Regions from separate parts of the Homo sapiens genome. Here region 2 is linked to region 1. Evidence: promoter capture Hi-C in human tissues and cell types (Jung and others, 2019). All regions are on one chromosome and are shown on one strand. The core of a region is centred on a gene start or on the middle of the fragment in contact, and the rest is flanking DNA. Distances in the headings are between cores, read along the strand shown.

Region 1 (5,053 bases), core at 1,086-3,585:
TAACACTTTATCCTAACGACACTCACGTACAATTATATTTGAGAATATATAACTCCTATTTGGAGGAAGTGGGGGTGAGAACAGCAAAGGCTTCATCAGTCTCAGCTAGCAGTCAAGGGCATGAAGGAAAAGAGAAAGGATGACAGCACCCAGTGCTCACCTGCGCTCCTTTTGCCTATACATATTCAGGCGCCGGATGGTGGCCCGGTCCCTCATGTTTTGGCCTCCTGCTCCCTGCACTCGATCTACAAAAGGCAGAAGTACACAGTGCACTATTTGATAACCAACCAGTATAACCAACAAGTCATTGCTTAAAATGCAACAAGTAGTTCACCCAAATTAGGTAAGAAGCCACCAACCACAAAAATCTCTACTTTCTCCATATGTTGCTCCAATAATTAGTACTTGAAGCTACATGGTATGACAAAGCTGACCCAATCTTTGATCTTCGATAGGATTGTATTTGAGAAGAATAGCTAATATTTTTGAGCACTTATGATGGCACTGTGTTATCCAAATTATAGGCATCATCTGATTTAATCTATACAATAATCCTATAGATATATTATCCCCATGCTGCGGAGTGAGAAACTGAGGCACAGTGGTCAGACACCTTGCCCAAGGTCAAACCGTTACTAAATGGCAGAGCCAGAATTTGTACATGAGCATTTGATCACCATCTATGGTCTTAACCACGAAGATACCTACCTCTGTGTCTCAGTTTAACAAATATTGAGTGCCTGCTCCATGCAAGGCACCATGGAGACTATAATTTTGATATATGTGTTCTTACTTTCTTAATGTTTGATTTTTGTTTAATCAACACAGCAATTCTTGCCTTACATCTCAAAGAGAAAGAGAAGGACAAACGAATAGGGTAATACTAGCCTAGCTTCTCATTTTGGGAGCCCTTTATTTACCTATTTATTCATTTATTCATTATTATTATCTTTTTTTTGAGACAGAGTCGTGCTCTGTCACCCAGGCTGGAGTGCAGTGTCGCGATCTCAGCTCACTACAACCTCCACCTCCCCGGTTCATGCAATTCTTCCACCTCAGCCTCCCGAGTAGCTGGGATTACGGGCATCCGCCATCATGCCCGGCTAATCTTTGTATTTTTGTAGAGAGGGGGTTTCATCATGTTGGTCAGGCTGGTCTTGAACTCCTGACCTCGGGTGATCCGACCGCCTCGGCCTCCCAAAGTGCTGGGATTACAGGCGTGAGCCACCACACCTGGCCAGGAGCCCCTTAAATCACCTGTCTGGTCCTGAAGTGATACAGTAGAAGACAGGCTGAAACCACAGCCCATTGGCTCTCCTAACAGTCTCTAACAGTAGAAACTGGCGGCTCTACTACTACTCACTAACTGTTGCAATTATGACAGGCCACTTCCTGTATTTTGATTCAGTCTCTTCACCTGTAAAATCATAATCTCTAAGGGCCTTTTGGGGTCTAACATTCTGAGATTCCAGTTTGTGCAAAGTGAATAATTTATTATCAATCCGGAATAAACATTCAACTTGCATTAAAATTGTCAAAAATTCTAAACCATATTTTAAAACAAAGTTTTATTAATTAAACCTGAATGGAAGGAACTCTCCCATAGGATGTCTTGTTAATCGTACAGGTGGAACCTCGCCAAAACTTACACACATCTCCTAAACAGCCTTACTGCAATGATCATACTGACTTCTTTGTAGGGTTCTCTAAGCACTTTACCAGATAGAATAATTCCAAGGGCCAAAACTATAAGCCCTTTCTCATTTTAAAGGTCAAAGCTAAGGTGGCAGGCAAGTATGATCACGTGTAAAAGGCCCGAAGGGTCAACCTACACCATTTTTAATCTGACTTTCTCTGCATCTCTCAACTGGAGAGGACCCAAGGCTGTCAGCCTGAGTGTTCACTTTCCTTGACTTCAGACCAGTTGACTACACTTTGGCCTGCCAGGCGTGCACTGAGCCCTCCTCAGTTCCCCCCTGAGAAGAAACCACCACAAATATTGCTTTCCTTTTTCCCTTTTCATCCCCAACAGCCACCCCGCTCGTAGTCATTCTAAGCAATGCCACTCGAGTAACCCTCCTTCCCCTCCAGTGCTCCTCGGAGCCCTTCCCTATACTTCCTCCAAGCTCCACCCTCGATCAGCCCTGCCGCCTGTACCTGGGTTTGTGCTGGCCTTGGACGGGTTGATGGTGCTCCGTCCTTTGTACTTGGGCTTCACCATCTTGGCGACGAGACCGGGACCGGAGTGCGAGGTCCGGCTTACGTGGTGAAACAAACTTTTATGTTCCCAAGCCCGGCCGAAGACACCCGCCTGAACCACGCCGGACCACGTGTGCACGACGTACGTCACTTCCGCTCGCGTCCCTCTCGGCCTCAGAGCGACTTCCTGTGAACGCGCGGCGCGCGCCGTCACCCTCCTGGCTCCGCCCCCGCTCCAGCCGCCTAGGCGTCGCCCTGCGTGGAGCCCCAGCCCGCTCCAGCCCTAGCAACCGCCAAGCTGCCCGTTCATAGCAACCGCCTAGTTAACCTGAACGCGCGGCCAGAGCTCCCAGTTGGGTCCACCTCCGAATAAAGAAGCTTCTTCCCAGGCCAGTGGCACAAGCTTAAGTTTGTCTTCTGAATTTGTCTTCTAAGTCCTTCCAAAAGTTGCCGACCACACAGCAGCCAAATATCCGTTAGGAGGTGTCATTCTCTTCCTTACAACTCCAGTGGCTTATCATCACTCTTAGAATGAGAGGTAGGGGAAGGGAGAAGGGAGAAACAGACAGAGACAGAGATTGATTCAAACTTTTTGCCATCCCTACAGGATTCTGTGATCTGGCCCCTGCCTGCCTATTTATCTAATCTCATGTGTACGTCCCTCCCTCTGGTTATTCTGACATTTACACTGGATATTCTCTCTGCCTGAATCACTCTTTCCCAGAATCTTTGCATAGCTGTCATTCAATCCTAAGCTCAAATATCACCTATTGGTAGGCCTGCAAGAATTAGCAAATAGAAATACAGGACACCAAATTAAATTAGAATTTCAGAGAAAAAAAATGAATACTTTTCTTTAGTACACCTCCAACAGTGCCTGGAAAATACTTAGACTAAAAAAGTATTCATCGTTTGCCTGAAATTCAAATGTAACTGTACGTTCTGTATTTTATCTGGTGACCCTTCCTGCTGTGAGAACTCATTCCTGTCTAATTTGTCTAAATCAGCCACCTTTCACCCTTTCACAGTTATTCTGTTACAGTATTCTGTTTTATTTATTTCATGGCATTTATCACTAGTTGAATTTTTTTTACAAGTTTATTGGCTGCTTCCCCCAAACTAGAATGTAAGATTCTTAAAAGCAGGGACCTTGTTAATTTGTTCACTGCTGTGTCTTTAAGACTTGAATAGCATCTGAAACAAAGGACTCAAAAAATATTCATTAAGTGAAAGAATGAGTAGATGGGAATGTCTCTTGCCTTGAGGATGAAGGAAGGCATTAAGACCCAGTGATTTCTGTTTCTACTAGCCAGAATAAAGTGTCTAGATGCCAGTGTTTGAACCAAGAAGCCCTCTCTCTTTTTACAATTTATTTTTTGTTTGTTTGTTTTTGTTTTTGTTTTTTGAGACGGAGTCTCGCTCTTGTTGCCCAGGCTGGAGTGCAGTGGCCCGGTCTCGGTTCACTGCAACCTCCACCTCCCGGGTTCAAGCAATTCTCCTGCCTCAGCCTCCCAAGTAGCTGAGATTACAGGCGCATGGTATCATGCCCAGCTAATTTTTGTATTTTTAGTAGAGACGGGCTTTCACCACATTGGCCAGGCTGGTCTCAAACTCCTGACCTCAGGTGATCCACCTGCCTCAGCCTCCCAAAGTGCTGGGATTACAAGTGTGAGCCACCTCGCCTGGTCCCTCTCTCTTTTTTGGTACCTCAAATTGTCAGAAAATGGCCATCTTTGTACCCTCTGGATAGGCCAAAGAAGAGATGGTTAGGCAAGAGGAAGGGTGGATTCATGCAGTGTAGCTCATTTCATAAAAACAAACAATTTGTTATAAAGTGAGGTATTCTAATTGAGCAGGGGATGATTGAGTCTTTATTTCTCTGAGTTTGAAACAAACCCCAAAACATTCTCTTTAGAGCAAAAGCAGGCCATGTCATAGGCTAGAGCTGGAAATACCTTCTGTCCCTCAAGCTTCGCTTTTATTGCCCCAAGGGCAAGTATCATGAGATTAAATGCAGCTCTGCTGGGAAGGCCCTGACTGTGACCTGTGTTAGGGAAGCTCTGAGAGCTATTTGGAAAAAACTTCATGATCAGTGAAGATGCCCCCTTCCACCCCACACTGTCCCTCTGATCCCCAAAACAAGGATACCATAGCCTCCTCCCAGAGAGAAGATTCAGTTAATGTGTTTCTGATGCCTCAAGTTGGTGCAAACCAGAATAAACACGGATGGCAAAAATCAGCCTATGAGCTCATTCAGGCTTTGATCAGAGACATAATTTCATTATGAAATTTTGAATCAGGCTGTTGTGAAGTCTTGCCAAGGAGTTTCATTTTCCCAGATGATATGGTGGGTTGTTTCTCTCCTGTTCTCATACTCTGCTTGCATTTATCTTACAAACTTTCCATCTATTTTTATAATCTGACCCATCAATCCTTTTACAACAATATTTGCCGATCTCGACAACCAACTTCAATTCTACCAGCAGATAAAAAGCCTGATCAAGGTAAGTCAAGCTTAAGTTACTGGTTTGATTTGCCTGCCCTGCTTGCCGCATTGTAATGCAGTGACTATTTTTCACTCTCTTTTCTGATGTCATGCCAACTAGCAGAGGCAAGATACACCTCCAGGTCTACAGTTCCTCAGCTTTAAAACAGATGCAATAGCTTAACTACTCTGAAAGACTGCAATAAGATCATATGAGTTACAGTATATGAAAGCATCGCAGACATGGTACACATCATGCAGATGGGATGCTTTCTATTTTTCTTCTTTTTTTTTTTTTTTTTTTTGAGATGGAGTCTTGCCCTTTCACCAGGCTGGAGTGCAGTGGCATGATCTCAGCTCACTGCAAAC
Region 2 (5,053 bases), core at 1,397-3,896, 240 kb after region 1:
TGAACATCTCTTATAAATAGAAACTAAAACAAATATTCAGAACACTAAGATCAGATCAATGACACTGGTTTTAGAGATGGGAATGATGAGAGGTTCTTGAAAAAGTAAGGTGGCATATCTGGGATCAGAGAGAACTGAGAGCCCAGGATAAGTATTTCTTGTCCTACAGGTAAGGTCCATGTTGAGAGCCCTGACAACAAAAGTCTTTTGATGAATTACTTAACAGACCTCTGTTGACAGTGACAGTCCATATGAAAAATCTGCCAGTGGAACATTAGGAATATCAAGAGTAAGCAAAGTGGCTCTCAAATATGTACATGGCTTGCAATGTAACATAAGAACAAAATCAATCAGAAGATAGGCTCAAGTAACTTATCTATAATCTTGTGTGTCGAGATCTACTTCATTCTCTTTTACTGTCTTGATAACCAAAGCTAAAAGGAATCTTTCCCTCCTCAGAACTCCTAAGGCTTTTCTTTACATTTCTTTTATGGCAACTCTCATTTCCAATCTTATTTTCTCTGTGGATACATCTGGTATCTGCTCTCCTAGAGTGTAAACTACTTGAGTACAGGATCCACGTAGCTCTTTCTGTAGTTCCTGCACATAGCAGACATTCCTTAATTACTTATATGAATGAATGCATTTTCTTATAAACCAAAATATTTTATTTCTTTAAATAGAAAGCTTCTCTAAAGCATTTTCATTTTTAATTACATGCAATCATCATCATGTCTAAAGTCTCATTGAATATTCAAGAAAAATGCAGTTTTAATCATCACAAAAATAAATGCATGTGACTGGATAGAAATCAGAGTCCTCTCAGCAGCCTACGGGAAGGGGGGCGGCGGGGAATAACCTAAGCTTCACAGCATCCATCTGTAGAGTAACCAATTACAATCTAACTACTCTTGCCCTTAAAGGGATCATGACTCAGGAATGCATCTGTAACTTAAAAACACAATTCCTTTTTTTTCTGAGACATGGTCTCTCTCTGTTGCCCAGGCTGGAGTGTAGTGGCATGACCATGGCTCACTACAGCCTTGACCTCCCAGGCTCAAGCAATCTTCCCACCTCAGCCTCCTAAATAGCTGGGACCACACGCATGCGCCACCACTCCCAACTAATTTTAAAATTTTCTGTAGAGTCAGGGTCTCACTTGCCCAAGCTGGTCTTGAACTCCTGGGCTCAAGTGATCCTCCCACCTCAGTCTCCCAAAGCACTGGGATTACAGACATAAGCCCAGCCCACAATTCCATTTGATTGGCATCTAAGAGTTGACTGTCTCTAACGACTTTTTATTTCTAAGTACCCTAACAAAACGAGTGGTTTAAGAAGGAACAGGTAGCATATCTAATGCCTTGAATATCCCCTGCCAAAATTCAAATACATTGTTTATTTTTTTTTTATTTTTATTTTTTTTGAGACAGAGTCTCACTCTGTCATCTAGGCTGGAGTGCAATGGCACAATCTTGGCTCACCACAACCTCCGCCTCTCTGGTTCCAGCAATTCTCCTGCCTCAGCCTCCAGAGTAGCTGGGACTATAGGCATGTGACACCACGCCTGGCTGATTTTTGTAGTTTTAGTAGAGATGTGGTCTCACCATGTTGGCCAGGCTGGTCTTAAACTCCTAACCTCACATGATCCACCTGCCTCAGCCTCCCAAATTGCTGGAATTACAGGCATGAGCCGCCATGCCCGGCCTCAAAGACATTGTTTATGGGCAGTTTTTGGCAATACATCTATCTATATTACATTTAGGGGAAATCCTTACAAACTGATTATCTCATTAAAAATGTCATATAATCATCCCAAAGCTGATTTTGAATACCTGTTGAATGCCTGGAATCATGCTATATACTATGAGCAGAGAAGAAAGTAGATAACCCAAGTCCCTCCTTCAAGTTTATAGTAAATGTATCTATTAGATATACATATGTTGACATATATGAATAAAAATGGATGCTCCTATATGTTTGTGTATACACACGAGATATTACAAAGCAATAATTTGAACAAGTAACAACTGCACCACTAAGCTAAGCATCCCTACCTCTCATTTCCTCTCTTGTCTCCTCATTCCCTCCCTCCTTGATTCTTAGGTAGGTATCCCTCCTCTGGGCTTAAGGCACTTTGGCCATCTTGCAGCCTCAGATATTATCCACAAATTTGTGGTTTTTTGTCACCAGACAAAGGTTCTTAAGAAGAAGGCCTGCTTCGGAGTATTTCTCTAGCACTAATAAAAGTACCCACCACATAACTGAGTTTCAACAAATGCTTCTTGGAAATAAATGGGAAAAAATGAGGCAGAAAGGCCATCATCCACAGAGTAAGGATGTTCTTGGACTCCATCAGCACCCCTCTAATCTGCAGTGGTTGGTTATAGCTGTCCTGGGGTGAGCTAACACTGCTAAATCAAGAGCTAGTAAAGGGAGTTTTCTTTCTTTTTTGAAAAATTCCAGAGTATATCAAGACCCCCAGCTGAAACCTGGTCAGTGACAAATAGAAAACAGTAAGACCTACCGAAATGGCTTTTCCCCTGTATGAGTTCGAATGTGCTTCCTCAGATCACTGAGTGTGGTGAAGTATTTGCTGCAGCCTTCAGATTCACAGTTAAACGTTTTCCCTGTGTGAAGCCTCTGATGTGCTTTCAGCCTGCAAAATATTCCAGAAAAATTCCCTTTGTCATAAAATTCTTTTTTTTTTTTTTTTTTTTTTCTGAGACAGAGTTTCGCTCTTGTCGCCCAGGCTGGAGTGCAATGGCGCAGTCTCGGCTCACTGCAACCTCCTCCTGCTAGGTTCAAGCGATTCTCCTGCCTCAGCCTCCCAAGTAGATGGGATTATGGGAGCCCACAACCACGCCTGGCTAATTTTTGTATTTTTAGTACAACGGGGTTTCACCAGGTTGGCCAGGCTGGTCTCGAACTCCTGACCTCAGGTGATCCGCCTGCCTCGGCCTCCCAAAGTGCTGGGATAACAGGCATGAGCCACTGCGCCTGGCCTCCCTTTGTCATAAAGTTCTACAGAGCCTCCCCATGCCAGCTTAATGTGCTTCAGGATCAAGTGCGTAAGAATTCTATACCCATAACATATTAGTATCCAACATATTTTGCCCCAAAAGAAACGCAGAGAATAGCACAGTGGTATGAGTGTGACTCTGGAGACAGACTTCCTGGGATTCAAATCCTGACCCCACATCCTGCTTGGATGGGGAAACTTAAGCTAGTTATAGAACCCCTCTGTGCTTCCATTTACTTATCAGCTATTGTGGGGACTAGCACTTGGAATCATGCCTAGCACACAGTGAGTATTTTTAAGTGTTAGCTACTGTTATTTCTATTACTTTATACTCAATACTGAAGACTATTAAGTCTCCTGATACAAACGTGAAAAAGAGAATTGGCTACTGAATAGGCCACTCCCCATTTCTCAGGATAGAAAAGTCCTTCAAGCTTAGGTAGGACAGAAGCCTTAGCACAAAGATCCTGAGCCAAGGGGAGATAGTACTCTATGCCAAGCACTGAAATGCCCAGGCCAGAATGCTGCTCCATGAGATGCAAATCTAAACAGAAATGTACTGTCGCTTCTAACCAGCCCAAGATACGTCCATCTTTAAGTAACAGGTTTCTCTAATGCATTTTTAAATTTTTTTCTTTCATTTTCTGAGATCTGGCAGAAATGAATTTTACGTAGTTGAACACAGCTGCGCTCTTTTAAAGCCCTGAAAGTGAAAACAACTCCTCTGCAAGGGGAAAGAGCTCTGCCATCACAACAAGGTCAAGGTCAGAGGCTGGCAGAGCATTGGAGACGAGACTGACCTGTACAGTGTGTTGAATGCCTTCTCACAGCCCTGCACGTCACACTCAAATGGCTTCTCCTTCGTGTGCACTCGCACGTGGATCCTGAGGCTGTAAGAGGTAAGGAAGGCTTTGCCACAGCCCTCCTGATTACAGACAAAGGTGTACTCTCCTCGGTGAGTCTTCTGGTGGGTTCGCAGGTTGCCTGCTGTGCTGTAGGTGCGGGGACAGCCCTCAAAGGTACATTGGTACCGCTTTACCTGGCAGAGAAAAGATACCTCATCAACAGGACAAAAATGCTGCCCAGGGCTTAACTCCCCCACCCAGAGCTCAGCTCCCAAGAGATGCTGTGGACAATACAACTGGGTTTTCATCATAAACACAGAAAACAGCCTCTAGCAGCAAAGTGGAAAAACCTTATTGTTGATCAAATCATACCTGGACAACACATAATGATTTATGGGGAAGAAATAAGTCTATATGTAGATGAATATTCTAAATGAACATAAGAATGTTTTCAGACTCTATATACATCTACCCACTAAAAGTACACTATACTGTTACAGCTACCTGTATTCAGATAAGATCTTAACTTTGTTTTAAGGCTTGACTAAACACCCTGACCTCCAGAACTACAACTTGATTGGAATTACCAATATTAAATTGAGTTTAAAACATCTGGAAATTTACATACTTAATCATCAAACATATTTCCCTAGATTGTTTCCACTGCATATTTTCAAGCCTACAAAATGACAACAACATATTGCAAATTTCTTGGAAGATTTGGTGATGTGATAATTCTCAAACTGCCAGCCTCTTGTTTCCTTTCACCATCAAACTTCTTGAAAGGGGAGTCAATTCTTCACCTCATGGCAGAAGGTTAAGAAAAAAAAAAAAGCTGCTTCTCCGACAAATATCAAATGGCAGATGACTCTAGTGCAGTGGAGGGCCTGGAATGGGAGGCCCAGCAGCTTCCTCAGAGACTTTGGCAGGGATATTGGGGCCAGGGTCATGGCTGTGGTTGGCCTGGAGCCAGGGCTGAGGCCATGGAGCTCTCAGAGGCAAGGCTGAGAACAAGGAGTGGATGCCCATCACCAAGCTGGGCTGCCTGGTCCAGGACATGAAGATCAAGTCCCTGGAGAAGGTCTAGCTCTTCTCCCTGCCCATTAAGGAGTCTGAGATCATTGACTTTTTGCTGGGGTCACCTCTCGAGGATGAGCTTTTGAAGACTACACCTCTGCAAAAGCAGACC

The links. Contacts are between HindIII fragments. The study calls those that stand out against the background at their distance.
Region 2: a contact is called between a fragment that was not itself captured here and the fragment with the promoter of GNL2 in region 1, in 1 of the 25 tissues and cell types used here (bladder).

What each region holds. Positions count from the first base shown.
Region 1 is chr1:37,593,602-37,598,654 of GRCh38, forward strand. It overlaps GNL2 (G protein nucleolar 2), which reads right to left and starts at 2,336. Exons shown (of 16, transcript NM_013285.3): 1 at 2,158-2,336; 2 at 161-245. The coding sequence starts at 2,221. RefSeq lists enhancers at 1,835-1,894, 2,065-2,254. The HindIII fragment of the contact is 8,299 bases long and covers 1-3,385 here.
Region 2 is chr1:37,836,101-37,841,153 of GRCh38, forward strand. It overlaps MTF1 (metal regulatory transcription factor 1), which reads right to left. Exons shown (of 11, transcript NM_005955.3): 3 at 3,820-4,058; 4 at 2,525-2,656. It also overlaps the pseudogene RPS2P13. Among named protein-coding and RNA genes, the nearest start is that of MTF1, 21 kb to the right of the region's middle. The HindIII fragment of the contact is 6,695 bases long and covers 1-5,053 here.